Linked DNA regions of Homo sapiens: all the other regions are linked to region 1. Evidence: promoter capture Hi-C in human tissues and cell types (Jung and others, 2019). All regions are on one chromosome and are shown on one strand. Each heading gives the region's core, a stretch centred on a gene start or on the middle of the fragment in contact. The rest is flanking DNA. Distances are from core to core; before and after follow the strand shown.

Evidence for each region. The method cuts DNA at HindIII sites, captures the fragments that hold promoters and counts their contacts. A contact is called where the count stands out against the background at its distance.
Region 2: a contact is called between a fragment that was not itself captured here and the fragment with the promoter of LYZL2 in region 1, in 2 of the 25 tissues and cell types used here (lymphoblastoid cells and mesenchymal stem cells).
Region 3: a fragment that was not itself captured here is called in contact with the fragment with the promoter of LYZL2 in region 1 in 2 of the 25 tissues and cell types used here (lymphoblastoid cells and spleen).

The regions. Positions count from the first base shown.
Region 1 is chr10:30,627,588-30,631,016 of GRCh38, reverse strand. It overlaps LYZL2 (lysozyme like 2), which reads left to right and starts at 1,264. Exons shown (of 5, transcript NM_183058.3): 1 at 1,264-1,424. The HindIII fragment of the contact is 10,435 bases long and covers 1-3,004 here.
Region 2 is chr10:30,337,479-30,340,890 of GRCh38, reverse strand. MTPAP (mitochondrial poly(A) polymerase) reads left to right here. Exons shown (of 9, transcript NM_018109.4): 3 at 441-665. Among named protein-coding and RNA genes, the nearest start is that of MTPAP, 10 kb to the left of the region's middle. The HindIII fragment of the contact is 6,752 bases long and covers 1-3,412 here.
Region 3 is chr10:30,316,403-30,319,792 of GRCh38, reverse strand. All of the region lies in intron 6 of MTPAP (mitochondrial poly(A) polymerase), which reads left to right. Among named protein-coding and RNA genes, the nearest start is that of MTPAP, 31 kb to the left of the region's middle. The HindIII fragment of the contact is 3,837 bases long and covers 1-3,390 here.

The DNA.
Region 1 (3,429 bases), core at 15-2,514:
ATGAGCCGAGATCACACTACTGAGCTCCAGCCTGGACAACAGAGGGAGACTCTGTCTCAATTAAAAAAAAAAAAAAAGAGAGAGAGAGAGAGAAAAAAGTCCACAAATGGCTTCTGAAGATAAGAAAAGATGCTCAGACAGCTTGAAATAAGGGAAGCTGAAATTGAAACTTTGCTGACAAATTATGTTTCATCTCTAATATTAGCAAATATCTTAACCTTTGGTAATAGGGTATGCTAGCCATCTTCGTCATACAAGCCCACGTGGAAGGCAATTTGGCAATATCTAGCAAAATTACAAAATTACAGTCCTTAACCCAGCAATTCAATTTCCAGGAATGTATCCTACAGATATTCTTGCAAATGTACAAATGACAAATGTACAAGATTACTAATTGTAATATGTTTATCATAGAAGAAAAAAATACCTTAAGTGTGAGTCAATATGGAATTGGCTAAATATGTTATATCTACACAATGTAATACTATATAAACTTAAAACTAGATTTCAACAAGATCTTTGCATTATTTGCAGATGGAATTTAATAAAATACAATAATTAGTTAGGTACAACTAACAACAAACTTATACTGAGATCTACATATTCCAATGAGAATTCATTTCAAATGTGTCATTAAATCTGAACACAGAAATAAATGGACCTTCAAACTAGCTCTTTATTGAGTCACAAAGTGTTAAGCCAAATTTTTAAAAAACAATGAAATCATGTTAATTATACATAAAAATTTTTTATTTCTTTTGTGGCCCTCCTTTGACAATATTTTATTAATTAACAATATAACTATAGCAAAGAAATGTGCTGTTAATTAATTTTTAATGTTAATTTCACCTCTCATTCATTTTCAGATTTTAGTTTTGTGTATGTTGATAATTTATGTAGCATATTAGTACAGAGGTACAGAAGTGTGATTTATAATTTAATATACATCTAAAGAGGATACATGCTTAACTTTATTAATGGAATTTGTGATAAAGTTTGCAGACTGTTGCCTTAGAGAAGAGCTCTCACTTGGACGGGAGGCCCTGGCCAAGTTGTGTAGTGAGGACAGTTGTTGAGAGGAAAAGAGAAAAAACGAGAGGTATTAAGGCCCAGAAGAGAGTTAGCACCTGCTTCAGAACACAAGCGTGCAGGATGATATAGCTTTTAGTGCCAAGAAGTAGAATTCTAGCATCTCTAGGTGGTGAGAAACAAAGGACTAAGAATTTTTCTTTCTCTAACACTCTAAAGAAAGGTTCTTGAGCTAGGAAAGGATTACTCGAGCCTTGTTAGAATCAGACATGGCTTCAGGGGATGCAGGACGCTCCCCTGAGCTGCCTGTCACCGACTAAGTGGAGCAGTGTTTCTTCCGCAGACTCAACTGAGAAGTCAGCCTCTGCGGCAGGCACCAGGAATCTGCCTTTTCAGTAAGACCTAAATTACTCTTATGAAGCCACCTGTCCCTGAGAACCAGCAATGGCAGGTTCTTGAAGGATGTAGAACATGATGCTTGGGGTTATCATTGCTACGGGTTTTGTTTTGACTTGTTTGAGATCAGTTAACATTCTAAGGCAGAGGATGGAAACCAACCTTATTTGTAAGCTCTGCATCTTTTTTTTTTTTTTTGAAACAGGATGTCACTCTGTTGCCCAGGCTGGAGTGCAGTGGCACAATCACAACTCACAACAGCCTCAACCTCCCAGCCTTAAAAGATCCTCCCACCTCAGCCTCCCAAACAGGTGGGACCACAGTCACACACCACTATGCCTGGCTAATTTTTGTGTATTTTGTAGTGACAGAGGTCTACCTTTGTTGCCCAGGCTGGTCTCAAACTCCTGGCTTCAAGCAATTTGCCCTTTTCACCCTCACAAAGTGCTGAGATTACAGGTGTGGGCCACCATGCCCAGCCTAAGCTCTGCATCTTAAACCTCGTTTGTCTGTCCCTCACAGCTTAGCACAATGCTGTACACCACGGACTGGCATGATCTCTCTGAAAAGGGCCAGATAATAATATGTTAGGCTTTGTGGTCTATACAGCCTCTAACACAGCTACTCAACTCTGCCACTGCAGCAGGAAATCAGCCACCAACAATATATTACCAAATGATGAGAGTAGCTATGTTTCAATAAAACTTTACATACAAAAGCGGGCCTGGTTTGCCCACGCTTGCTATTCACGTTTGTAATGTACATGCCCCTCATGCAATGCAGTTCCTTATCTTATTGCTTAGTCACCTTAAAGCCCTGCTTGTTACTCGGTGCGGTGGCCTTGCTGATGACTACTTATCCCTGTTTTGGGCCTAGCCTTTCAATGCAGGAATCCAGCCCCAGGGAGAGAAACTAATGACTAGAGAAGTTTCCAGGCAAGTGCAGAAAATGACACGGGATGAACATATGTAAGAACATCAAGTTCAGGATCCCGAGTAGTTGTCAGAAATTTCACTTCACCCCATCCCAGCAAGGCTGTTGTGTTTGGGGAAGACATTATTTTAAGAGGGGAGGAGATTGTGGAAAATCAGTAGGCAGCAGGAGACAGCGCTCTTGATCCTACTCCCATTTCAGACGATTCTATGGGGGCCTCTTTATTGTCCCTCTGCTCCCCCAGGTGCTTTCCTCCTTTCATGAGGCTTTGTCCTCCATCCCTCTTGCTCCCCAGTCAGGTGCCAGACTTTTAGGAGGCCGCCCGGAGCACTGGTTGTGAAGCTTAGCAAAGCAATGCATTTGCAATCTAAGATAAAACACTAGTACTTTGGAAGCAATGCTCCCACATTTTGAAATGCATCAAGAAAAGAAAAGGAAAGATTAGGTGCTTAATCTTCACCCTTCAATAAACCCCCAAACGATGAATCTTTTTTTTTTTGAGGCGGAGTCTCGCTCTGTCGCCCAGGCTGGAGTGCAGTGGCGCAATCTCCGCTCACTGCAAGCTCAGCCTCCTGGGTTCACGCCATTCTCCTGCCTCAGCCTCCCGAGCAGCTGGGACTACAGACACATGCCACCACACCCGGCTAATTTTTTTGTATTTTTAGTAGAGACGGGGTTTCACCGCATTAGCCAGGATGGTCTTGATCTCCTGACCTCGTGATCCGCCCGTCTCGGCCTCCCAAAGTGCCGGGATTACAGGCGTGAGCCACCGCGCCTGGCCTAGACGATGAATCTTAAAGTTTTCCATTCAGGTCCACGTGTATTTCATCTCTGGCTGAAATGGGGTGTCTGTTTCTACACACCCAGTTGATCCTTGAACAAATGTAGGGGTCGGGGTGCCAATGCCTGCTCAGTTGAAAATCTGCATGTAACTTTTGACTCCCCAGAAGCTTAACGACTAATAGCCTACTGCTGACTGGAAGCCTTACCAATAACATGAACAGCCAATAAACACATATTTTGTACGTTCTATGTCTATACTGGATTCTTACAATAAAGTAAGCTAGAGAA
Region 2 (3,412 bases), core at 539-3,038, 290 kb after region 1:
CTGGAGTGCAGTGGCATGATCTTGGGTCATTGCAACCTCCGTCTCTTGGGTTCAAGCGATTCTCCTGCCTCAGCCTTCCAAGTAGCTGGACTTACAGACACCTGCCACCACGCCTGGCTAATTTTTGTATTTTTAGTAGAGGCGAGGTTTCACCATGTTGGCCAGGCTGGTCTTGAACTCTTGACCTCAGGTGATCTGCCCACCTCCATGTCCCAAAGTGCTGGGATTACAAGCGTGAGCCACTGCGCCCGGCCCAGTGTTCCTTTTCTTCATCTACTTAAATTGAATAAAATTAATGCTATGTTAGAATCATATCATTTGTAAATTTTAAAGACTTGATATTTTGTAGCATTATGATAATTGTTTTAATATATGAGCTAAAATAGTATGTTAGATATATCGTGAAATGTGTTCTGTTTTTTCTTATGTTTTTGGTATAGGGTCTCTATGCTGTCGTAGAATTTTGCCAAAAGGAAAGCATAGGTTCACTGCAGAATGGGACTCATACTCCAAGCACGGCCATGGAGACTGCAATTCCATTCAGATCACGTTTCTTCAATCTGAAGTTGAAAAACCAGACTTCTGAACGGTCACGCGTACGGTCAAGTAATCAGTTGCCACGTTCAAACAAGCAGCTTTTTGAATTACTTTGTTATGCAGAAAGTGTAAGTTTTTAGGTGTACCTCAACTTTTAGAACTATGTATTTTTTTATGAACAATAAAGATTCCTGTAAAATGTTCAAGCTACATTATTGTTTAATGGGTATAGATCTTCAGTTTTACAAGGTGAAAAGAGTTACGGAGATGAATCGTGGTGGTGGATGCATAATGAGATGAAGGAAAGTTTTTTTCTATTTCTAGCTTTCTAAGAATGTCGTCATGCTCAACACATTGAGTAGATGTTGAGTTTTGACATTTGAGATGGTATTGATGACTGGCATATGGTCTTGAGATTGTATATGGTTCCTAATGTCTTTTTCTTTCCCCTCCTAATGTCTTAACGTAGTGAATTGTAGATTCACTGTAGATTTCCTCATGTCAAGTCATTCTTGCATTCACAGAATAAACCCTACTTAGTCAAGGTGTATTTACAAAAATGCATTATTACATTTGTCGTGCTAATATTTTTATTACAATTTTAATATCTCTATAAATAAATGGGATTGCTTTTAAAAATTCAAACTACAGGATATGTTGAATGAAAAGTGATAGTAATCCTTGTCTGCTCCTTCCCCGCCATGCCCCATTTGTACTTACAGGTAACCACATTCTTCTGAAGTTTTCGGCCTTTTGAACAGTTTAGGTTTTCTTTCTCTTTCCAGCATAATGACATAAAATTGTACATGGTTTTCTGTCAATTTTAAAATGTCTTCTTTCTGATTCTCTCTCTCTTTTTTTTTTTTTTTTTTTGAGATGGAGTCTCGCTCTTGCCCAGGCTGGAGTGCAGTGGCATGATCTTGGCTTACTGCAACTGCTCCCCGATTCAAGCAATTCTCATGCCTCAGCTGCCCAAGTAGCTGGGACTACAGGTGTGCACCACCACACCCAGCTAACTTTTGTATTTTTAGTAGTGACGGAGTTTCGCCACTTTGGCCAGGCTGGTCTCGAACTCCTGACCTCAGGTGATGTGCCCACTTCGGCCTCCCAAACTGCTGGGATTATAGGTGTGAGCCACTACGCCCGGCCCAAGATTCTGTCTCTTCTGTGTTCAAATATTGTTTGTATTTGTCTTGGTGTTTTTTTGTTTGTTTGTTTTTGTTTTTGTTTTGAGACGGACTCTTGCTCTGTCGCCCAGGCTGGAGTGCAGTGGCGTGATCTCAGCTCACTTCAAGCTCCACCTCCTGGGTTCACGCCATTCTCTTGCCTCAGCCTCTCAAGTAGCTGGGACTACAGGCGCCCACCACCATGCCCGGCTAATTTTTTGTATTTTTATTAGAGACGGGGTTTCACTGAGTTAGCCAGGATGGTCTCGATCTCCTGACCTTGTGATCCGCCCGCCTTGGCCTCCCAAAGTGCTGGGATTATAGGCGTGAGCCACTGCACCTGGCCTGTCTTGGTGTTTCTTACTCAGACTTGCCAGACCTTGCTAGTCTTTCCAAAGAATCAACTCATGGCTTTATTTATCAAAATATTATTTTCAAGGTTTAATTTTCTAATAAGAAAATTTTTGCTTCTAATCTATTTCCTTTACTTTTATTGTTATTATTATTATTTTGAGACAGAGTTTTGCTCTTGTTGCCCAGGCTGGAGTGCAATGGCCTGATCGTGGCTCACTGCAACCTCCGCCTCCCAGGTTCAAGCGATTCTCCTGCCTCAGCCTCCCAAGTAGCAGGGATTACAGGCACGCGCCATCACACCTGGCTAATTTTTTGTATTTTTAGTAGATTTGGGGTTTCACCACGTTGGCCAGGCTGGTCTCTAACTCCTGATCTCATGTGATCTGCCTGCCTTGGCCTCCCAAAGTGCTGGGATTACAGGCATGAGCCACCGAGCCCGGCCTCTTTTATTATTTTTGAGTTGAATGCTTAGTTCAGTTCAGTTCAGTTATGTTACGTTATGTTATGTTATGTTAATGTTATGTTGTTATGTTAATGTTATGTTGTTATGTTATGTTATGTTACGTTATTTTTTGAGGTGGAGTCTTGCTCTGTTGCCCAGGCTGGAGTGCAGTGGTGCAATCTCAGCTCACTGTAGCTGCATACTCCTGGACTCAAGTGACCCACCTCAGCCTTCTGAGTAGCTGAGACTACAGATGCATTCCACCATGCCCAGCTAGTTTTTGTATTTTTTTTTTTGGTAGAGTCAGGGTTTCATCACGTTGCCCAGGCTGGTCTCACTCCTGAGCTCAAGCGATCCTCCCGCCTTGGCCTCCCAGTAGTTCACAGGTGTGAGCCACTGTGCCCAGCCAGTTGATATTTTCAATGTTGGTTTCAAATAAGAGCATTTGAAGTTACGATTTTTTTTCACTTCAGATACTCCAGTACACAATTTCAGTATGTGATCATTTTAATGCCAGTCTTCTAGTGGATAGACAGGATTGTTATTCTGAGAAACTGAGAGGTCTTGGGCCTTCATTACTTGAGTATTTCTAGTTTTTCTTGCCCTTTAACATTGGTCTTTCATCCCTTTGAGTTTAAAATGTCTAACGTGGTTGTTTTAACCTCTTCTGGAGTACTTTACTACTTTCATTTTCTTAAAACAATACTTTATACTCATCGCTTACAAAGTTTTAATTCTAGCCAACTTTCATTTTGCTAGTGGCATTCCTCAGAGCTTTTTAAAAATTTTAAAATATTATATAATTTATTTCTTTAGTGAAATAGAGACGAGGTCCTGCTGTGTTGCTTAGGCTGATCTCAAACTCCTTGCCTCATATGATCCGCCTTGGCCTTCCAAAGTATTGAGATTACAG
Region 3 (3,390 bases), core at 355-2,854, 310 kb after region 1:
TATAGCACATTGTAGGTGCGAATTGCCAATAAATGCCAAGCAAAATACACTTTTTGCCTTCCATCACCTATGGTTTTTGAAGTTGCTGTAAAAGAACTTGTCTTAGATTAATGTATATTAAGAATTTGGTGAAGATCATTTTGAGGAGAATTTATCAATATTTTCCTTTTCCTTTTTTTTCCCTCCAAAATCCATGGTTTTTATACTTTCTAATTTTGACCAGTAGTTCAACTTTGGTGGACATTAAACCTAAGGAAGAAAACAATTTTAAACTGTGAAACAATCAAAACCATATTGAGTACTTGGTGTTTAATCATGTAAGTGACCTGAATCTTGTGTACAATCATTTCATTTCTTCTAAGCTGTACCTCTCATTTGATATACAAATAATCAATTTGTTCTTTTTTAAAAGAAAAAATATTTTATTTGCTTCCTTGCTTGTTTATTAATAGAAGGCAACATGAATTCCTAGAATACCTTCCAGAACTTCTAGGATTTTGTAAACTACTATTTAGAACCTAAGCTAAGCTAAAGACCAAACTTTTTCACATTGTATGCAGGGCCCTTTATCACCTTCCTTTTTATCCTCTTCTTTTACGTTGATTCCTGTATACCAGTTGGGAGCTTTAGCCACTCTTGAACTCCTTGATGATCCCTGATGTTTTGTGCTTTTTTTCATTGCTCCATGCTTTTGCCTGAAATGGCCTTCTCCCAGCCTCCCCCTCCCAGCCACCCCGCTTTTTTTTATGGAGAATCTCAAGATTAAGCCAGAGAAGACAGACAAACCTAGTACAGGATCTCATCTGTTAGGTCTTTTCTTGCTGTCCTCTCTGCTTCCCAGTGGGTAGTGCTTTGTTGGTTTCCAAGCTCTTGGTACACACCTGTATTGTAACAACTGTTAGATTGTTGTAGTTCTTTTATGTGCCTGCCTCAGCATTGTCAAGCTTTTCTAGGGCTAGCTGTCTGCTTCACCTCTGCGTCTTCTGTTCTCGGAATAGTATTGGGTTCATAGTAGGAGTTCACTATGTAGATTTCAAAATGATTGGATAACATTTTAAAGTTGAGGGCTGTTTGTACTGGGCAAGATGGACCATGATATTAACTTTCATATTTGGTTCCTCTTGAATTGCCCTGTTTATTTGTGTTTTCTTATAATCTCCACTGTGTTCTCTCATATGTCTCATTTTCTTGTGTTTTCCATGCTTTCTGGCTTTGCTACTTTTGTTACATTTACTTCTGTGCTTAGTGCTTTAATTGAAGATTCATTCCTGAAAAAAGACACAGCAGCTAAAAGAGCATCAATATATGTGACTGACACTGCATCACAAAAAAACATACACTGTTAATTACTTGAAATAGTAAAACATGTGCTCAGGTTCCTTAAAAATAGATCTAAGTAGAAATATATATACATACATACATTTTATATAGCTCCTTCAACATATTATAAATTGTATAGTAGAGCACGTAAAATGTGCTATTAAAATGTTAAAACCTAGAATAATTTTTGAGAAATTATGCAGGTAACCAGGTCTTGACAAAAAAATGACAAAAAACACAAAAAATGGGAGATAAATTTATAGGAGGCTTATTTATCTCTCTGGTGATTATAGGCATTTAAAGTCAAATATCAGGGCCGGGCACGGTGGCTCACGCCTGTAATCCTAGCATTTTGGGAGGCCGAGGCGAGTGGATCACTTAAGGTCAGGAGTTTGAGACCAGCCTGGCCAATATAGTGAAACCCTGTCTCTAACTAAAAATATAAAAATTAGCCGGGTGTGGTGGTGTTCGCCTGTAGTTCCGGCTACTCAGGAGGCTGGGGCAGGAGAATCACTTGAAGCCGGGACGCGGAAGTTGCAGTGAGCCAAGGTCACGCCGCCACTGCACTTCAGCCTGGGTGACAGAGCCAGATTCCATCTCAAAAAAAAAATTAAAATATCAGCAGTCATCCAGATTATTGATTATATACCTGCTATATGCTAGATGCTCATTGGGGGCAGGTCGGTGGTGGGGAGTTGGGCAATAATGAATAGGACAGTGGCCTTTGTAATTCCTGACTGGGGCAGAGGAGTGGACAGCATACAAACAGTCACAATGCAGTCAGATAAGTCAAATGGTGAATGGAACAAAAAGGATGGAAAACCAGTTTGGAATTATGAAATGCTTTCAGATAGGAAGTAGCCATTGATGAGATTTCTGAAGAGTGGGAATTTGCTCTTGAAAACAGCATAGTATCTGTTGCAGATAGTGTGGGCCAGGGATTTCATGGTGGTTGTATATTTATGAAAATGATTACCTCTTAAGATATAAATACTAGTAGGAAAGGTGAATATCTGAGTCTAACGTGCTGTTATTGAGTTTGTTTTGCTGAATTACTGAATTCCAGTTAGTCTAGAGTGCTACATTTTAGAAATTACCTGAAGCTTTTTTAGTTAGCATTCAGTTTGTGTCGTGTATGAAGATGATAAGAATGGAATTGGAGATGTAAATTAAGTATTGACTAGAGGTAGTGCTGAAATTTGGTTTGGTGAAAGATGGGGGAACTCCCTACATTTCCATCTACTGTTAGAAAACTGATTACCTCAAAAATTGATTAGGAATCATTGGGTTGTTGAAAGACAATAATTCTAGTATGCTAAATTAAATGTAATGTTAATTTCACTGTGGCATAACTAGTCTCAAATCTTTTTTTAAAATATAACTCCATTAAAAGAAGATAAAAAGATTTGAGATTAGTTATGCCATAGTGAAATTAACATCATTAAATCATAGACAAGAAATTATAGATTAAATCGTTATTTAATCATTCAGTCATAATTATTCAATCATTTATAAAATCTGTGATTTAAATAAAGAATAGAGTAGAAATTTACTTAAATTTGTTTTGTTTTGTTTTGTTTTGTTTTTTGAGATGGAGTCTTGCTCTCTTGCCCAGGCAACAGTGATGTGATCTCAGCTCATTGCAACCTCCGCCTCCTGGGTTCAAGCGATTCTCGTGCCTCAGCCTCTTCAGTAGCTAGGATTACAGGAGCAAGCCACCATGCCTGGCTAATTTTTGTATTTTTAGTAGAGATGGGGTTTCACCATATTGGCCAGGCTGGTCTCGAACTCCTGACCTCAGGTGATCTACCCGCCTCAGCCTTCCAAAGTTCTGGGATTACAGGTGTGAGCCACCGCGCCTGGCCTTAAATTTATTTAAATCATAGATTTGTATTCTGAGGTAGGGAATATCTTTGAAATATGTGAAATAGGCTGGGTGCGGTGGCTCACGCCTGTAATCCCCTCACTTTGGGAGGATGAGGTGGGTGGATCACCTGAGGTCAGGAGTTCGAGACCAGCCTGGCCAACATGGTAAAACCCCATCCCTATTAAAAATACAAAAATGAGCTG